4 separate regions of the Homo sapiens genome follow, and regions 1, 2 and 4 are each linked to region 3. Evidence: promoter capture Hi-C in 16 types of primary human blood cells and fetal thymus (Javierre and others, 2016). All regions are on one chromosome and are shown on one strand. Each heading gives the region's core, a stretch centred on a gene start or on the middle of the fragment in contact. The rest is flanking DNA. Distances are from core to core; before and after follow the strand shown. Region 1 has its middle 61 kb from the start of AKAP1. Region 2 overlaps AKAP1 (A-kinase anchoring protein 1). Region 3 holds the start of MRPS23 (mitochondrial ribosomal protein S23). Region 4 overlaps AKAP1 (A-kinase anchoring protein 1).

Region 1 (4,868 bases), core at 877-3,376, 700 kb before region 3:
GTAAGAAAAATGGGTCTCTAGTAGGATGTGGCCAATAATTAGATGAGTCCATAACCTGACAGATGCTCACCTGGGAGATAGAGAGGTCGGGGGACCTTGTGAGGGGCCAGGGACTCCAACAGAATAAGCTGTAAGCGGGAACAGGAAGGGAACGGATGTGCAAAGTCATGAACTCTGAGCTGTCTTCCTAGCTCAGCTCCTGTTCTGTGTGACCTTGAGCAGGTCACTTGCCTTCTCTGAGCTTTAGTTCCTCATCTATAAATGAGGAATGTGGACGTGCTGACCTACAAGATTCTTTTTTTTTTTTTTTTTTTTTTGAGATTGAGTCTCACTCTGTGTCCCAGGCTGCAGTGCAGTGGCTCACTGCAGCCTCGACCTCCTGGGCTCAGGTGATCCTCCCACCTAAGCCTCCTGAGTAACTGGGACTACAGGCATGTGCCACCATGCCTGTCTAATTTTTGCATTTTTTTTTTCAGTAGAGACAGGGCTTTGCCATGTTACTCAGGCTAGTTTTGAACTCCTGGGCTCAAGCAATCTGCCTGCCTCGTACTCCCAAAGTGTTGGGATTATAGGCGTGAGCCACTGCGCCCAGCTGGTTCTTTTCTTCTCTGACATTAAAATGACTCTGAGGCCTATGATCATGGTCCTCTGGGTGGGGAAGGTTGGGAAGATCTCATCTGAGTTTAGCTTATCCCTAGGCCTTGACCAATCGCTGATGCTCCTTAAGGGTCTCCTACATTTTGGAGGCATATGCAGAAGGAACCTGAAGTCACAAGATCAGAGGTCCTGCGGCAGTTTAAATAACAATAGCAACAACTGCTACGACTACTTCTCCCATTATTCAGCACAACTGCAGCTGGGGGATTTAGGTTCATGGTCTGCAGCTAACATTTATTGCGGACTTACTCTGGGCCAGGCACCATTCCTTACGCTTTATGTATATTATCCTGCTTCACCCTCCCAACGACCCCAGGAGGTAGGTACTGTAGCTTCTACAGGAGGTAGAAGCAGAAGCACAGAAGCCTAGTGTGTGTCCCAGGCCACACAACCGGTAAGTGAGATTGTTAAGATGCCCCCGGGAGTCTGTCTCCAGAATCTGTGTTCCTCATCACTCCTGCATACTCCCCATTTACAAGGGCAGAAACTGAGGCTACAGGAGGTTAATTGATCTGTGAACAGCCAGGATCCTGGGAGTTCTCAGACCTGTCCATTTTGTGAGAAGGGAAAAAGTCTCGCTGCTCCTTGTGTTTCTTTCTGTTTTTCCAAGTCAGTCCATTTTTTTTCTTGTAACAAAAGTCTATTTACGGAAGAGACATATAGGACCCAAGATAACCATGCATCAGTCATGCTTCAGTGAACTCCCAAATCAAAGATGGGCTGGATAACGTGTACCCGACGCTCTTGGCTTTTTCAGCATTTCAGACGTTTTTGTTGTTGTTCCCTCTGTGGGTTGAAACCAGGCTTTTGTGACTTGATGAGGACACATTTTTCCTGGGGTGTAATAATGCCACTGGTGTTAGCCCTAATGCTGAAGAGAGAACATTTGCTATTTTGGAAGAGTTAATCCCAAAGCTTCTTTCTTTTGCTCCTGCCTTTAGAAAAGGCATTTCTGAGGCAGGTCCAGGCAAGAGTACTGCCTCTGTAATCCGCCCTCAATCATCTTAGCGCTAATCACCGAGCTTCATTGAGTACTTTGTAATGTGCCAAGCTGGGAGCTGAAGGCTGATTTGATTCTCTTAACATCTTCTGAACGGGTATAGCTGTTACCCCCATATTACAGATAGGGCACTGAGGCATGGAGCTTAAATGGCTTGACCAAGATGCCCCGGCAGCAAGGGGCAGAGCTGGGAATAGAACCCCGACTCCAGACATAGGCTATTAATGCCACAGTCTGCTACTCCAGGACTGACCATTACGTTTGTGGGGAGTGGGAGGGGAATGAAACTGCAGGGCCTCTTGTTCAACAAAGATTAAGACTTTAAGACTGCTGGGTGCAGTGGCTGAAGCAGTTTGGGATGCTGAGGTGGGAGGATCGCTTGAGCCCAGGAGTTCAAGACCAGCCTGGGTAACATAATGAGACCTCCGTCTCTATCTTTTAAATATAAAAAACTAAAAAATTAAAAATAAAAATAATGTAGGCCGGGCATGGTGGCTCACGCCTGTAATCCTAGCACTTTGAGAGGCCAAGGCAGGTGGATCACCTGAGGTCAAGAGTTCAAGACCAGCCTGGTCAACATGGCGAAACCCCGTCTCTACTAAAAATACAAAACTTAGCCAGGTGTGGTGGCACATGCCTGTAATCCCAGCTACTCAGGAGGCTGAGGCAGAAGAATCGCTTGAACCCGAGAGTTGGAGGTTTCAGTGAGCCAAGATCGCGCCATTGCACTCCAGCCTGGGCAACAAGAGTGAAACTCCGTCTCAAAAAAAAAAAAAAAAAAAGTGTTAAGACTGTGACGGCAGAGTATTAACCAACTGTGGAGCCCTTCTCAGTATGAGGCCCTGTGTGACTGCACAGGACAGATGCCCAGGAAGCTGGCCCTGACTACCCCTTTGGGCAGTTCCCTGGCTGTCTTCCAGCTTCCAGCCCTCTTTTCCAGGGGGACAAAAGCACCTTGGCCCAGGCAATGTGCTTTATACCGCCCTGACAGCTATGAAAAAGAATGGCACAGCCTGGGCTTTAGAAAGCTTGGGTTGCTGCAGGTTCCTTCTGAGCAGCAGGCAGAGAGGGCTCAAGCCAAGACTGGGTGCCCCAGCCCATCTTCTGCCTCATCGGTGCCCCCGAGGGCTGGCACTTGGCGAAGCCCCACCCCACCTCCAGGCTGTGTCTTGTGGAGAACACAGCCCCTCTGGACTCCTCCCTGTCTCTGCCCATCCTGTGGCTATGTTCATGATGGGGCCTCCTGGAGGTTCAGAGAGGGCCAGAACATTGTCCTTTCTTTAAGCTTTGGTTTATTAAACAATGGAGAAATGTCAAAACGGATTGCAAAAATTGTGGTGTGCTTCAAATGTGTGCATGTTTAAAATCAAGGCCATTATTATAAAAACAAATAAGATGCAATATAAATGTGCTTTTCCCAAGACAGTTACTGGATTTATTCATTCCCAGCTCACATACACAGTAGAACCCGGTAATGGAATACGTGGTGTTATGATATAGATGGGCTGTTGTCCACGGCTTCTGCTTCATATCTCCCATAGCCCCTGTTACAGCCTTTACTTATAATGTTGGGTGTATTAGGCCTCAGGGGCAGGCTTCAGGAAACAGAATCTCTCTCTTGCCCTCCATTCACCTAACTCAAGATAGGACTCTCATTTTCTTTTTTTATTGAGATGGAGTCTCGCTTTGTCACCCAGGCTGGAGTGTAGTGGCGCAATCTCAGCTCACTCCAACCTCTGCCTCCTGGGTTCAAGTAATTCTCCTGCCTCAGCCTCCTGAGTAGCTGGAATTACAGGTGCCCACCACCATGGCTAGCTAATTTTTGTATTTTTAGTAGAGACACAGTTTCACCATGTTGGCCAGTCTAGTCTTGAACTCTTGATCTCAGGTGATCCGCCCGCCTCAGCCTCACAAAGTGTTGGGATCACTGGTATGAACCACTATACCCAGCCTCAACTTCCCCTGCCTTTCTGATTGTGGGTCTTAAGGCTTTCTTCAGAGAGGGTCCCACCCTGTACCCTGGGGGGAAAATGCTTTGAAACTTCCATAAATACCCAAGAGGACTGGGTTGGGGGAGCTCCCGGATAGCTGAACGTGTGAAGCCTGGTATCCCAGGGAGGGGATGGAAGCTCCACGCCCTTTCTCCTATACCCTATGCATCTCTTCATCTGTATCCTTTGCAATATCCTTTTTTGGAGACAGAGTCTTGCTCTGTGCCCAGGCCGGAGTGCAGTGGTGTGATCTTGGCTCACTGCAACCTCTACCTCCCGGGCTAAAGCCATCCTCCCACCTCAGCCTCTTGAGTAGCTGCGATTACAGGCATGCGCCATCACGCCTGGCTAATTTTTGTATTTTTTGCAGAGACGAGGTTTCACCATGTTGGCCAGGCTGGTCTCGAACTCCTGGCCTCGAGTGATCTGCCCACCTTGGCCTCCCAACGTGCTTGGATTACAGGCGTGAGCCACTGTGCCTGGCTGCGATATTCCTCATAATGAACTGGTAAATGCGAGTGTTCCCCTGAGTTCTGTGAGCTGCTCCAGCAAATTAATTGAACACAAAGAGGGTGGTGGGGGCAATTGTGAAGCCAATCAGTCAGAAGTTTCAGAGGCCTGGACTTGCCACTGGTGTGTGCTGGAGGGCAGTCACGGGGACTAAGCCCTCAGCCTGTGGGAGCTGACGCTATCGTAGTGTCTGAACTGAATTGGAGGACACCCCCCTGGGGTCCGCTGCTTGGTGTGTGGGGAAGAAACACACATACCTTTGGTCATAAAAATTCTGTGTTGATTGCTGTGGTGTGACAGCTGAGGAAAAATGTGGCTGGAGAGAGTTTTTCCCTATAGAATATAATTATTTTTTAGTTTTCATTGAGGTATAATGCACGAAGTATGGGGAAAGTGCACTGATCTTAGGTGTTCCACTTGCTTTTTATATATGTATATACCTCCATAACCACTACCGACATCAGGATATTTACAGCACCTAGAAGTTTCTCTCACCCCCCTTCAAAGTCAGTACCCCCGAAGAGGTCAGTGCCGTTATGGGTTCTATCACCTAATGATTGGTTTTACCTGTTCTTGGATTTCCTATAAATGGAAGAATACAGTGTATATTCTTTTGTGCTTGGTATCTTTCTCTGAACATAATGTCTGTGAAATCACCTATGTTTTTGCATATGGCAGTGGTTTATTCTTTTTATTGTTGAGTAGAATTC
Region 2 (4,680 bases), core at 1,302-3,801, 760 kb before region 3:
CCTGGGTTCAAGGGATCCTCCTGCCTCAGCCTCCCAAGTACCCGGGACTATAGGTGCACATCATGATGCCTGGCTAGTTAAAAAAATTTTTTTTGTAGTGATGGGGTCTCATCACCTTGCCCAGACCCATTTCAAGACTCCTAGGCTCAAGTGATCATTCCATGTTGGTCTCCCAAAGTGCTGAGATTACAGGTGTGAGCCACCGTGCCTGGCCCCATAACTTCATTTTTGTGTGAAGTTGCCCAGCCTAAAGGCTGGCCACTAAATGGACACTTAAAAACTCTCTAATAGTGTGGATTGGTGGGCAGTCTGATTCCTCTGGCTTAAACCAAAATGCAAACATGAAAGGAGGCATGGCCATAGACCCCCGGTGAGAATTCTTTACTGTGATGACACAGAAGCTGAAGAGGGATGAAAAAGCAGTTTGACCAGCAAGCTTGCTGGTTCCCTAGGCCACCCTTTCTTCTCTCCTTTTCAGTTCCTCCTTCCCTCTAACTTGGAGCTGCTAACTCCAGCCCATCTAACTGTTTCTGATTAAGAAAGCTTCAAGCCTTATAAGGCCCTCTGTTGCCTATGGTTTATGTTGGCTGGAGAGCAAGGTTGTTTTTTGCAAAGTCTGATTCAAAGAAGTGGCAAGGGCTTACGTAGGCTGTGTGTGTCCGCCTCCTGGGGCTGGACTGCCTTATTGGAACAGGTTCCTTTGAGGGAGCCTGAGAGTAAGGGGGGCTTATTATCCCTTACCCTTAGTGGTGGCTCTGTAAGGCTAATGTGTGGTGTGGCCACAGGGCTTCCTGGCAAGTGTATTCGCTGAGAACTTAAAGGTAAAAGCAAGCCCCTGTTTACCTACACAGTGTACCTGTCATGCTACCAGCCACAGAGGCATCCTGTTTCAGGAATCAAGTCTGGAAGCAGCTTCTGCTTATTAATTAAGAACTAAAGCCCCTTGGCTCTTCAGGCACATCGCTTTCCCCTCTGGAGAAAGTTTGGTGGACCGTGTCCCTTGGGGTTCTTGCGAGTCCGACTGGCCTTCCGCGCAGTGATGTTGGAGAGCCCTTTTTCTGAGAGCCATGCTCTGCCTCATCTTCACCTCCCCTCTTGCTACCTCTTGAGTCAGCCAAGCCTGTTCCTGCCTTAGGACTTTGGCACATGTTCTTCCTGCCTGGAACTTTCTCCCCGCTCTCCTCCTGCTTCCCCCCAGATCTTGGCACAGTTCTCAAGTGTTCCAGTTCTGATGCCACCTCTTCCAAGAGGCATTCCCGCCTCATTCTGTCTGCAGCTTCCCCTTCCAAGTGCTCCATCCAGCCTTTCTCATTTCAACCACAGCACACAGAAAAGGACTAGGTGACCGTTCCTCAACTCTCCCAGCTGGTGCCCTGCTACACGCACAGGGATATAGGTAATTCATCACATGCAAGGGCAGCCTTAGGGCTCAGTTCTCTCAATCAGTTGAGAGAGGCTGCAGGTCTTTATATTTAAGTCGCGGAATCTTTGCAGTATCTTACCTGTAATTTGACTCTCTACCCTTCCTTCCACCTTTGCTTCCTGAGGGATCTCTTTGCCTTATGTGCCCAGCGAACTTGGCTCACAGTGCGTGTTAAACTCTTTGTTAAATGACTGGCCCTGAGAGGTCCAGCCATCTGATGCTGGCTAGCCCTCAATGCCTTGCTTCCAGAGGGATCTAACCTGTCAATAAGCATGCTCTCTTTTTGATATTACTATTATGTCAGCTGGGCAGCTGGGGGTCTCTGAAGCAAAATTGGCATCAATTATTATAGGAAAATAAGGCCTTACAAGTTTGTACACAGATGAGTTGACATTAATGCAAATTTAGGATGGTTAATAAGAAACATAAAGCTGTGTGGTAATAGAGCATGCATTGCTACTTGTATGTATCTTAATAACGTGTTTTCTATCAAAACATTACTTGTAGAAAGGATTTGGCTTTTGACTGTGTACAAGGCTTGAAAGGACAGTCCTTTGCCCACTGCCCCCCACCCCCATTACTTTCAATTCTTCCAGCTGTCCCCACCATTGTCAGTAGTATTATTTTCTTTCTTTTTAAGGATTATTATCTGATTTGTTTTTCTGCTGTGGGAGATAGGATTTAGCTCGTTCCTATGCTTTTTTCTTCCCTCATCATCCCAGTGTAGAGATAGCCCAAGTTTTGGTCAAGTTGATCTTCAGAATATACATTATTATAATATGAACCTTGTTTATGGCTGCAAGGTTTTTAGTTTCCCATATTTCTTCTTTTCCTTCATTTTCTTCTTCTCCTCTCCTAGTTAATTTCCTTAGTTTCTTTTGCTTAATTTTCTGTCTCTCTCACCAGTTCCCTGACCACCTCGCAGCCTCCACCATTGCTGTGGAATGCCTGTCATTGGGGGAAAGTGGCTCTCACTGTGGCTCCACATACCAGGTACTCGCAACGGTTCCACGTTTCTCCTGGGCGCATCCCTTTTCCCTGGCTCTGCTTCCCCTTCAGCCTTGGAATTCCCTCTCCCCTTCTCTTGTCTCGTTTCTGGATCCAGTGCCCCTCCTTTCTTGGTTGATTTCCTTGTCTTGGGGGAGCCCATCGTTCAGTAGCTTGCTGAGAAGGTGTGCGTGGTTTGTGGCCCACAAGAAGCCAGCCGATCCATGCAGGGACAGGCACCTTTGAAGGCATGGATTGGGCCTTCAGTTGGGTGGCTGAAGTCAGCAGACAACTAGGCCTGTGGAGCCCTTCCGCCAGGCCAGGCCAGCAGAAGGTCTGGCTTCACTTTTTAGAGAAGTTATAAATGTGGCGATCTGGATTTGGGTACCAGGGAGTGGTGAAAATGGGTCCCCCCCAACTTTTTTTTTTTTTTTTTTTTTTTAAAGACAGGTCTCACTGTCCCCCAGGCTGGAGTGCAGTAATGCCATCATAGCTCACTGCAGCCTTGATTTCCTGGGCTCAAGTGATCCTCCCACCTCAGCCTGCTCAGTAGCTGGGACAAGAGGCATGTACTACTATGCCCGACTAATTCTTTTAAATTTTTTTTTGTAGAGATGAGGTCTCACCACATTGCCCAGGCTAGTCTCGAACTCCTGGGCTCAAGTAATCTTCCAACTTCCCAAAGTGTTGGGATTACAGGTGTGAGCCATCGTGCCTGGCTGAAGATGGGTCTTGAATGAAAGTCTATATATTGAATGGGGCATCCCAACTCTCCTTGGCTCCCATAATGCTGGCATTCAGGCTTATATTCTCTCATTCCTACCCCAAGATACTAGAACATTCTAGTCTGAGGACACTGGCACCCCATTTTCTGTTCCTCCTTCACCCCTAACAGGGCACTTCCATGTCCTATGGACAAAACTTTCAGTTGGTCAGTAGCAGAGAGTGGCAGTAACAGGCCCACTGGAGAAAAGGTCATTGCTTGTTTTTTGAGACAAGGTGTCACTCTGTTGCCCAGGTTGGAGTGCAGTGGTGCGATCTCGGCTCACTGCAACCTCTGCCTCCTGGGTTCAAGCAATTCTCCCACCTCAGCCTCTCGAGTAGTTGGGACTACAGGTGTGCGCCACTATGCCTGGGTAATTAAAAAAAAATTTTTTTTTTGTAGATACAAGGTCTCACTATATTGCCCAGGCTGGTCTTGAGCTCCTGGCCTCAAGCAATCCTCCCGAAGTGTTGGGGATTGTAGGCGTGAGCTACCGTGGTGGCCTGTTTGGGCTTTTTTTTTTTTTTTTTTTTTCTTCTGCCCTCCACTACTCCCCGCCAAGACTGAAAGTGCCTCGAGGGCAGTGCCTTGCCTGATTAATTTGTGTCCCACCATGCTTTTCTCTGTGAGTGCCAGTAATTATTTGTTGAATAGAAATTACCTTCTATGCTTTTATGTGATTTCTGGGGTGGTCGTAGTTCACTGTCTGCCATTAGGAAGATCAGGGTCTTACCTCTTTGGTTTTGCCCATGTGAGGTGCTGCGAAGGGTTTCTTGCTGCACACCAACATCTTTTCTGATGTCTTTACTGGCTTTTAAGTCAGGTTGTTGTCAGATTGCCATTTCATACTTTTTGGGCAGTTTTGTGTAATGTCTTCTGTGGTCGTGGGCGGGAACTCCATGTACCCAGGAAGGCATTCCTGGCACCTGTGTTGTGACCATCTTTAGAAACCTGGCGGAATTCACTTGTAAAGCAAGATGGTTGTCAAGGCCAGAGGTGAGGGGCAAGGTGAGTGTGACATAGTCTTCAAAGTTTTAAAATCCACACCCCTACCCCCAAAATGAAGTGATTAGGAAGACCTTTGTAGGAGGTGCTGATGATTTTTCCTTCACGAAAAGAGGCATGTGACTTGGACCTGCCATGGATTTGGCCAGCAGAGCAGGAAAGAGACTGGGCAGTTCAACCTCGGGTACTAAGTTTTCCAGAGCAGGAGTTGGTTTAACTTTTAGTTGGGCTGGCGGAGCTCTTACTTTGAGGCCATGTCCAGAGATGGTATTTCTGGCTTTTGGCTTGTCTTGTCTTACCTAGAGCACCTGGTAGTGGATTCAGGGTTTTCATTTTGGCCGTAGAAGGCTTTGCCAAGCAGGTACTCAGACACTACTGGGTTAAGCTTCTGGCCTTCCTTCTGTGAATTGGGCTGGGAAAGTGTCCCGAGTTCCTGACAGCTGCTCTACGTGGAAGGGCAGAAGCACCCACAAAGTGTGCTGGTCTGGTGGTGCTGGCCCCC
Region 3 (4,322 bases), core at 1,764-4,263:
CTCACACCTGTAATCCCAACACTTTGGGAGGCAAGGCGGGCGGATCACGAGGTCAGGAGTTTGAGACCAGCCTGACCAACATGGTGAAACCCCATCTCTACTAAAAATACAAATTAGCCAGGCATGGTGGCGTGAGCCTGTAATCCCAGCTACTCAAGAGGCTGAGGCAGGAGAACAGCTTGAACCCGGGAGGTGGAGGTTGCATGGGGCTGAAATTACACCACTGCACTCCAGCCTGGGTGGCAGAGCGAGACTCCATCTCAAAAAAAAAAAAAAAGAATGTTCCTAGGCAACCATTAGGAGCACATTTTCTGTGACTATTTAAGTTTTGGAAAAAAAGAGAATAAAGAGGCCGGGCGCGGTGGCTCACGCCTGTAATCCCAGCACTTTGGGAGGCCGAGGCAGGCGGATCACGAGGTCAGGAGATTGAGACCATCCTGGCTAACACGGTGAAACCCTGTCTCTACTAAAAATACAAAAAATTAGCCAGCTGTGGTGGTGGGCGCCTGTAGTCCCAGCTACTCAGGAGGCTGAGGCAGGAGAATGGCATGAACCCGGAAGGCAGAGTTTGCAGTGAGCCGAGATTGCGCCACTGCACTCCAGCCTGGGAGACAGAGTGAGACTCCATCTCGAAAAAAAAAAAAATACTTAGATCAGAAAAAAACAAAACTTTTTTTTTTTTTGGAGACAGGGTCTCCCTCTGTTGCCCAGGCTGGAGTGCAGTGGTGCACTCTCAGCTCACTGCAACCTCCACCTTCTAGTTTCAAGCGATTCTCCCACCTCAGCATCCAAAGTAGCTGGGACTACAGGTGCCCACCACCAAGCCCGGCTAATTTTTGGTATTTTAGTCAAGACAGGGTTTCACCATATTGCCCAAGGTGGTCTCGAACTCCTGAGCTCAGGCAATCTGCCCACCTCAGCCTCCCAAAGTGCCAGGATTACAGGCGTGGGCCACCGTGCCTGGCCCAGAAAAAAAAAATTCTTAAATAATCATTATCAATACTGACAAGGATAAAGTAAGAACTCTCAGAAACTGCTAATCAGAGTGTAAACTAAGACAACTACTTTTTTTTTGGTAGAGACAAGTCCTGCTATGTTGCCCAGGGTGGTCTCAAACTCCTGGGCACAAGCTATCCTCCCTTATGCCTCCCAAAGCACTAGGATTACAGGCACAAGCCACCACATCCAGCCTGTGATTTCTTTTTATGCTTTCTTTGTGTATCTAAATTTTCTACAAGTAGCATGTGTTGCTTTTATAATAAAAGAGGAAGTATTCTTGCCACTGAGCTTAAGAAAAAGAAAAAAAAAGAGAAAAGGGATGCTAAAAAAAAATAAAGAACACATGATTTTCCTTCAAATTCCTAGTGATTGTCTCTCTCTGTCGCCCAGGCTGGAGTGCAGTGGTGGGATCTCGGCTCACTGCAACCTCCACCTCCCAGGTTCAAGCAATTCTCCTGTCTCAGCCTTCCGAGTAGCTGGGACTACAAGCACCCACCACCATGCCCGGCTAATTTTTGTATTTTTAGTAGAGACGGGGTTTCACCATGTTGGTCTGACTGGTCTCGAACTCCTGACTTCAGGTGATCCGCCCGCCTTGGCCTCCCAAAGTGTTGGGATTACAGGCGTGAGCCACCGCACCCGGCCTCTCTTAGACTTTCAAGCATCCTTTCATCTGAGTGGCTTCAAAGAGCCGGACTACTAGATCCACAGACCACGTTCCTCCTATCTCCACTCGTGGAGAAGGCCGGCATAATGATCACCATAAGCTTGGAGTCAGAGATGTGATTCCCAGATCTGCCACCCTCCTATATATTTAGTAATTACAAGAAGTTAGCTAATTTCCTTGAGCTTCGCAGTCTCCTTGAATAAAATGGAAACAAGAATGCCTTCCTTACAAGTTAGAGTAAGGCCTTTAGAGAATGAGATAATGCTTGCAAAGAGCTTAGTACAGTGCCTGGCCCAAAGCAGATGCCCAGAAACATGCGGCTATAATTGCAATGATCTTTCGGTTGCTGGGCTCCAGATTCCACTTTTCAGAACTTCAGTTTCACTATGAGGAAGGGGTGCTGCCTCCCTAATTTGGCTAGATAAGCCTTCTCCACAGGGCAAACCCCTGACTCAATTTCATGTTTGAATTCCCAGACTGCTACCGAAACCTTCCCTTCTGAAGTTCTGTTGCCTCCTGTCCACTACAGGGCTGAGCACTCACGCTCTAATCCGATCCTCGTGGTACCAGATGTCTTGGATGGGAGCTTTGGCTTTGCCATATCGCACTCGAGGCCTTTGGAAGACGGGCTCCCTCAGCGGGGGAAAGGCGTCATATACGTCAAACCACAGGGGCTTCTCCTTCAGCACCCCGGCCCGAACCAGGTCCCGAGTCCTTAGGGAGGGAACAGAACGAAACTGGGTCACTTGCAGTAGCCTGCCAAAGCCCCTGAATCAGTCTAGCACAGTTTGGGACATTAAAGGTATTATGCGGTCTGCAACACAGAACGGGGAAGGACTGCTCCCCACCTACAGAGAAGATCTGTCCACATCCCAAACCAAACTTAACAACGCTCAGGAGAGTTAAATCCCTCTATCTTCTTTTGTGCGTCCCACCCACGTTCGGTCACGGAAAAATGCAAAGAGCGGTCTTGCATGACCTGATAAGGAAGGCCCATCAGGCTCTTCCTCCCTTCCTCTTCCTAGAGACCTCCACTCGGGGAGAGGCAGCTGCAATAATCTTTAACATGACACATAAATTCAAGGAGAGGCATCCTCAGGCACAACTATTCGGAGCCAGGAGAAAACATGAGAGGGCCTCACCCAGCTCAGCCCCCGCACCCTGCAATACGCCTCGCCCTGCTCAGGTCCGCTCCAAGGAAGAGCGTGACCGGCTGAGAACCCCAGCCTGGGGGAGGCACCCTCAGCCCACCACGGCTGGGAGCACACACCGAGAGAAGATGCTCCCTACGGTTTCCAGCCGGCTGCCTGCCATGATCTGCGCCTGGTACCGAGCGTGACTAGCTGCTACCGGAACCGGAAGCGGCTGCTCCAGGTAAAGGGCGCATAAGTTGCTGGCCGAGCCAAGGATCGCTGGGCTTTCACCGCAGCCCCTGCGGGAGAGCGGCGCAGGCAGAAGCAAGTGATAGGCCGAACGGGCGCGCTCCGAGGTTACTTGCCAGGTTCAGGCAGGAGCACTCGATAGCCGAGCCAAAAGGGCAGGAGCGAGCCAAAGCCGGACAGAAGTAATAAATGACCGAGCTGTGGGAGGGATTCATCATGATGGTTGCTTTACTCTCTCTCGCCTTGTTGAGCCAACTCCTCTGAAAAGGTGGGGCCGCGCGGAGGAGAAGTAGTGGGGCAGAGCAGGGGTGAAGCGCAGCCTACAGTCCTAGGGGAGCCAACAAAGGCCGAGATTTGAGGTCACCAGCTCTAGGCCCAGGCTGAGCCTAATGTTGTTTAGAGTCACAGACTACGCAGAAGAAAACCAAGGCCGGGGAGGGGCCGTCACTTGCCCAGCGTCGTGCTAGATCTCGGGCCTCCGCCTCTGGCTGTGTAGTGCTCCCCACTAAGCCCCTCGTCCCCGGAGTGCCACCTGCATCCACGCTAACTAGGATGCTGGCTGCAACTCGTGTTTCCCGCGGCCGGTGTCGCGGGCTACCTCCTCCTTGGAACTCGAAAAGTGAAAGTGTCCGGAACAAACAGACGCCGAGAGGGAAACGAAAAAATCTGGAGAAAGTCATCTCTCAGTGTTAAACTGTAAAAAAATATAAACTGTGTGTAGCATACCCTTTGACCCAGTAATCATATTTCGGGGAAAGAACCCCTTAGAAATTAAAGCATCAATTCATGAGGATGTTTGTGCAAGGATCATCGTTGCAGCATTGTTTGTAGTGGGAAAAAAAATCCATCAGATGAGAAATAGCTGGAAAATTATTGTTCATACTTTCTTTGGAACCCTATGCAGCTATTAAAATGAATGAGCTAGATCCACATGTATTTACCAAGGTTAAGGTACATGACTTATGTTTAAATGAAAAACGAAGTTGCAAAGAAACATGTTTAGTGGAATCTCAACGTGTTAGAAAAAAAAAAGGAAAAAGAAACACCTCTATATATGTTTGTGTTTGAGGATAGAAATTCTGCAGAAGGACACCCAAGGCTGTGAACATTGGATATCTCGGAGTGAAACTGCAGGCAGGCAAGGGAGAATTTTTTCTTCCTTTACACATGCTTCAGAGTTTGACTTGTAAAGAGATTGTATTCATATTTGAACTTTTAATCCAATGAATGTTTTGAATCACACACAATGTCTCCTGGGAGCCTAGTCAAGTCAT
Region 4 (4,672 bases), core at 937-3,436, 730 kb before region 3:
TCTTCTTCCTTCTATCTCCTTCCCCGGCAAAAACCAAACAAACTGGCAGACAGGCCAGGGATGTATGTTGCTTGCTTGAGAGGGTTTCTTTTACTTCAAAATCTTTCTTCAGGGAGCAAGACATGAACTGACTAATTGGTATCCACTACTTGTACAGCTTACATAAATGAGTTGATGATATTTAACCAGTTTTTATAAACTTCATTTAGGTCTCTAAACACAGACTTTTTAAATTGCAACTGTAAATATGAAATGGTCATCACATCTGACCTTGGTCAGTGGGGAGGGGAACTGGTATCCTGCCAAGCCTGGTTGTAATTTGTAACCATTTTCTATTTGTGCAAACTCTGTAAATATGTGTTTAAACAAATGTAATATTTTGTACAAGATACACTGGAGAACAAAGGGAACTCAAGATTCTTCCAGCCACATGTCACCTGTAGGTAGAAGTAAACTCTGCAGTGCAGCTTCTGCTCTTGGCCCCTCTGGCCAGGGCCCCTGTGGCTTCCTGCACACTGGACAGGTGACTGTATGGTAGAGACTGTGATCTGGGAACTTTTTGCTGTACAAATCTGTTTAAAAAAAAAAAAAAGTAACTCATTGAATTAACTTGCAGTGGTGTGTTTGATTCTTTTTTAGACTGGCTTCAGCATTGTGCAGTTTAAAAATAAGTAAGTAACTTACATAAATCTTCAATTGTATGAACTGCAGCTTTGAGTCCATTTTTTTCCAGTGGTGAAGAATTGGCGGGGGGGGGGTGGTGAGTGTGGCGAGCTGGATCACAGGCCCCACACAACTGCCTCTGCAGGAGACCCATGGTTTTTTGAAGACAATTTGGCCAGAAATTTCTATCTGGCCTTTTCCTCTCTCTCCTTGTCCCACCAGGTGGCAGCCAAGCGTCCTCCGACTTCTTCACTGCATGTTAACTGGCCAGACTCAGTTTAAAGCACTGGCTTCCAAAACGGGTTGTGCCTTCTTTGGTTGTCATTCTTAATAGATTCGTGAAGTTATTTAATTTACTGTAGTGATAAGAATGATGTAAAAAATACATGTAAGTTATGGGATGAGATACTGCCTCAATTTAATAGCCCCTGCTCTTAAAGAAGGCTGGCCACTGCAGCCCAGGCCTACCCCAGTGCCCCGCCCCTGCCCCCTACGTTTGAGGCCTCTGGCTGCAGGGCTGTTGAGCTTGAGCTCTAGTTTTTAGAGAGCTGACGTAGCCTGAGGGTCATTCTGATTGGAGATATCCTCCCACCGCACACCCACTCCTGGGAGCTCCTCCCAGTTCCAACCCAGCTGGCTTGTTCTTTCCGTCTCTGTCCTGGCCAAGCCTGAGCTGTGGCCATTGTCAGGTGCCCATCTTCCCCTCCATCCAGGTTCTCGCCTGTGTGGTTAACAGCCTCTGTTTCCCTCATCTGTAAGATGAGATAACCTCATAAGGCAATTTAATCATGGAAATGCCCTCTGCTTCTACAGTGCTTGGTCCCAGGGAGCTCCCCTGCAGTTCCTTAGCCACTATTGGCTTTAAGTCCTGGCAGGAATTGGGTGTGACTTTGGCCAGGTCACCATACACCCAGGTCTAAGCTTTTCCTCTATAATCCAGCATTGCTGGAGCATGAAAAGGTCTACGGAAGCCTTCCGACTAACTTAGGGAATGCTCACAGAGCCTGGTGTGCAGATTTAGCTTTTATCTCCAGGGAACCATTGAGGGGTTTCAAACATTAAAACATGCTTCTGGTGCAGGGAGAAGGGTGGGTGAGGTGGAGGTGTAGACATGAGAAAAAAGGGATTCCCCTGGGATGGAGCCTGGGACAGACAAGACGTGATGAAGTCAGGATCCTCAGATAAAGCCCCTTGGGCTTTGATGAGTGGGATGGGCTGCTACCCGGGACTCCCACGCCTTAGAGTCCTACCCTGCAAGGGTGCCTCCATTAAACTCGGTTTGGAATGCTGGAGGAAGAGCAAGTTGGAGGCTGGTGAAGGACTTGTACTCCTCGAATAAATGCTTCTCAGATTGTTGCCTTTGATTAATTTCCAGAGTTCTGAAAAACTTGACTTTTAACCATTTTGCCAGAAATCTCATTGTTCTTAAGGAGGAGCAGATTTATGAAGGTCCTCGCTCCATCCCTCTGCAAGTCAGCTGCCCGGGCAAGTGCATTTGAGACGCCCTCTTTTAATTACCTGTGGGGCATCCAGGGGATGTCTTGGTGTGAATTGGAAACTCACGGGAGAAGCCAGTGCTGGCAAGAGATCTGGCAATCTGCCCAGGGTGTAGGGGAGAGGGGTGGAATGCTGGATGCAGGAGGCTAGAGCTTCCACCCTGTTCTCATTATAGGCATTGGTGTCAGTACTGCCCCTCTGGTCTCTGGGGCATCACCATGGAGGCTGGGTTTTAGGGTTACTGCTATACCTTGTACAACTTCAGGTATGCCACTTGTAGACATCAACATCTGTCAGACGATAACTAATGTCAGTTCTAAGATAAAATGAGAGTTGTAGCTAGAGTTAGGGAGTGCTTACTGTGTCAGGTGCTGTCTCTTTTACAGGTAACACTGAGTCCTTGACACAACCCAGGGAGGCAGGGACTCCGTAGATGAGCAGACCCAAGAGGTAGAAGATGGTGATTTTGGAAAGTGGTTCGTGGATAGAGCAGAGCTGAAACTAAAAACCAGGCTGCTACCCCAGGCCAGGTGCTCTTCACCACCACCCCTAAAGCAGCGTGGATTCATCTTGCCCCAGTCCACATCCCCAAATAAATGCCACAGTGATTAAATGATCAGTCCATGGAAAAGCTTTGGAACTTAGAGTGGGAAAGATACCATGACAAGAGAGATCAATGATTTTGCTTTTATGGAAAATTTAAATCTTAAGTAACATAAAGCCAAGAGACACCTGCAGCAGCTAGGGCCAGAGAGTGGACGTTTTGAATCCGTGATAACGTAAAACAAGGAAAACTGGCCAGGCACGGTGGATCGCGCCTGTAATCCCAGCATTTCAGGAGGCTGAATTGGGTGGATCACTTGAGGCCAGGAGTTCGAGACCAGCCAGGCCAACATAGCAAAAACCCCATCTCTACAAGAAAAATGACATGGTGGCACGCACCTGTAATCCCAGCTACTTGGGAAGCTGAGACAGGAGAATCGCTGGAACCTAGAAGGCGGAGGTTGCAGTGAGCTGAGATCACACCACTGGACTCCAGCCTGGGTGACAGAGCCAGACTGTCTCAAAAAATCAAAACAAAGAAAAAACCCAAGACAAATCTCTAAGTTTCCATTGGGAAATATCATAAAGGATGTGGATGGAAAATCTGGGTCTGTTCCTAGACCAGCAGTGGCCAATAGAAATATGTGAGCCACATCTGTAATTTAAAACTTTCTAGGAGCCACAGTTAAAAAGTGCAAAGAAACAGATGAAATTAATTTTCATAATACTTTAAGTCATATCATTTCAGCATGTAATGGATATGAAACATTAAGGAGTTGTTTTACAGTGTTTTTCCTACTAAGTCCAGTGTGCATTTGACACTTCAGCATATCTCTGTTCAGGCCGGCCACATTTCAAGGGCATGATAGCCACGTGTGGCTTGTGGCTATCACGTTGGACAGTGTAGGCCTGGACTATTCCATTGATCACTATCACACTGATACTGACAGCCTTATTTATGTTCTTCCTTATTCAAAAAGTTGTATGTCCTTTTGCACATTTATTTTTCCAGATGAACTTTAGAATCATTTTGCAGGGAAGGGGGCCATACTAAATATTCTATTGGTATTTGAAAATAATGCACGCTATTGAGTTGGTATAAAGTTTTATATAATCTATGAAGTTGGGTGTGTAAAATATTTGAATTTATTGTTTTCCTTTCTCGCCCTCTCCTTCCCTGGTTTTTTTTTTTTTTTTAAATACAGGGTCTCGATCTGCTGCCCAGACTGGAGTGCAGTGGTGCAGTCAGCTCATTGCAGCCTCGAACTCCCTGACTCAAGCAATCCTCCCTCCTCAGCCTCCTGAGCAGCTGGGAGCACAGGCGCATGCCACCACACCGAACTAATTTGTTTTTTCATTGTTTTTGTAGAGATGAGGTCTTGCCATGTTGCCCAGGCTGGTCTTGATCTCCTGGCCTCAAGCGATCTCCGCTGCCTCAGCCCCCAAAGTGCTGGGATTACAGACACAAGACACTGCACCCAGCCCTGAAATTGTTGTCAGAGCATGTATGAGACCTTGTACATCAACATATTTTTTTGTAGTTTGGCTGGGCATCTCTGGTAGACTGGATGTCTCCTTGCCAAAAATTCTGTCTTCCTCACGGTAGGATTGTACATCCTACTGTGTTTTGTTGGACTCAGGCATGGACTCATCCTGGTCAGTGGAAGATGGGTAAAGGTGGCACAAGTCACCAAGGCAGATGCCTTGAGCCAGTATGTGGTTCGCTTGTCTTCTCCCTCTGCACCAGCGTCAGCTACATGCCAGGTAGATACCCATCCACCCACCTGGGTCCCAGTGTGAAGATAACGTGGAACAGGGCTGCAGCCAGCTCTCAATGGGTGTGTGGTTTGTGAAACATCTCACATGAGCCTCTGAGGTTTGGGGCTTGTGTGTTCCCCATGGCCTGTCATTCTAGGGTCCCACACCTTTCCTCCAAGGGCTCAGAGCTCTGGCCATAGAAGCTGCCAGG

What was found. Contacts are between HindIII fragments. The CHiCAGO score rates a contact against its expected background, and 5 or more counts as called.
Region 1: a fragment that was not itself captured here is called in contact with the fragment with the promoter of MRPS23 in region 3 in 1 of 17 cell types (M1 macrophages); the score reaches 5.5 in M1 macrophages.
Region 2: a fragment that was not itself captured here is called in contact with the fragment with the promoter of MRPS23 in region 3 in 1 of 17 cell types (M1 macrophages); the score reaches 5.7 in M1 macrophages.
Region 4: a fragment that was not itself captured here is called in contact with the fragment with the promoter of MRPS23 in region 3 in 5 of 17 cell types (M0 macrophages, endothelial precursors, activated CD4 T cells and 2 more); the score reaches 7.0 in M0 macrophages.

What each region holds. Positions count from the first base shown.
Region 1 is chr17:57,143,906-57,148,773 of GRCh38, forward strand. No RefSeq gene overlaps it. Among named protein-coding and RNA genes, the nearest start is that of AKAP1, 61 kb to the left of the region's middle. The HindIII fragment of the contact is 1,113 bases long and covers 1,571-2,683 here.
Region 2 is chr17:57,091,779-57,096,458 of GRCh38, forward strand. All of the region lies in intron 1 of AKAP1 (A-kinase anchoring protein 1), which reads left to right. Among named protein-coding and RNA genes, the nearest start is that of AKAP1, 8.9 kb to the left of the region's middle. RefSeq lists enhancers at 1-183, 1,106-1,605. The HindIII fragment of the contact is 4,020 bases long and covers 542-4,561 here.
Region 3 is chr17:57,847,031-57,851,352 of GRCh38, forward strand. MRPS23 (mitochondrial ribosomal protein S23) reads right to left here and starts at 3,014. Exons shown (of 5, transcript NM_016070.4): 1 at 2,937-3,014; 2 at 2,210-2,380. The coding sequence starts at 2,980. RefSeq lists enhancers at 2,995-3,324, 3,000-3,509. The HindIII fragment of the contact is 6,704 bases long and covers 1,765-4,322 here.
Region 4 is chr17:57,120,640-57,125,311 of GRCh38, forward strand. It overlaps AKAP1 (A-kinase anchoring protein 1), which reads left to right. Exons shown (of 11, transcript NM_003488.4): 11 at 1-705. Among named protein-coding and RNA genes, the nearest start is that of AKAP1, 38 kb to the left of the region's middle. The HindIII fragment of the contact is 1,208 bases long and covers 1,583-2,790 here.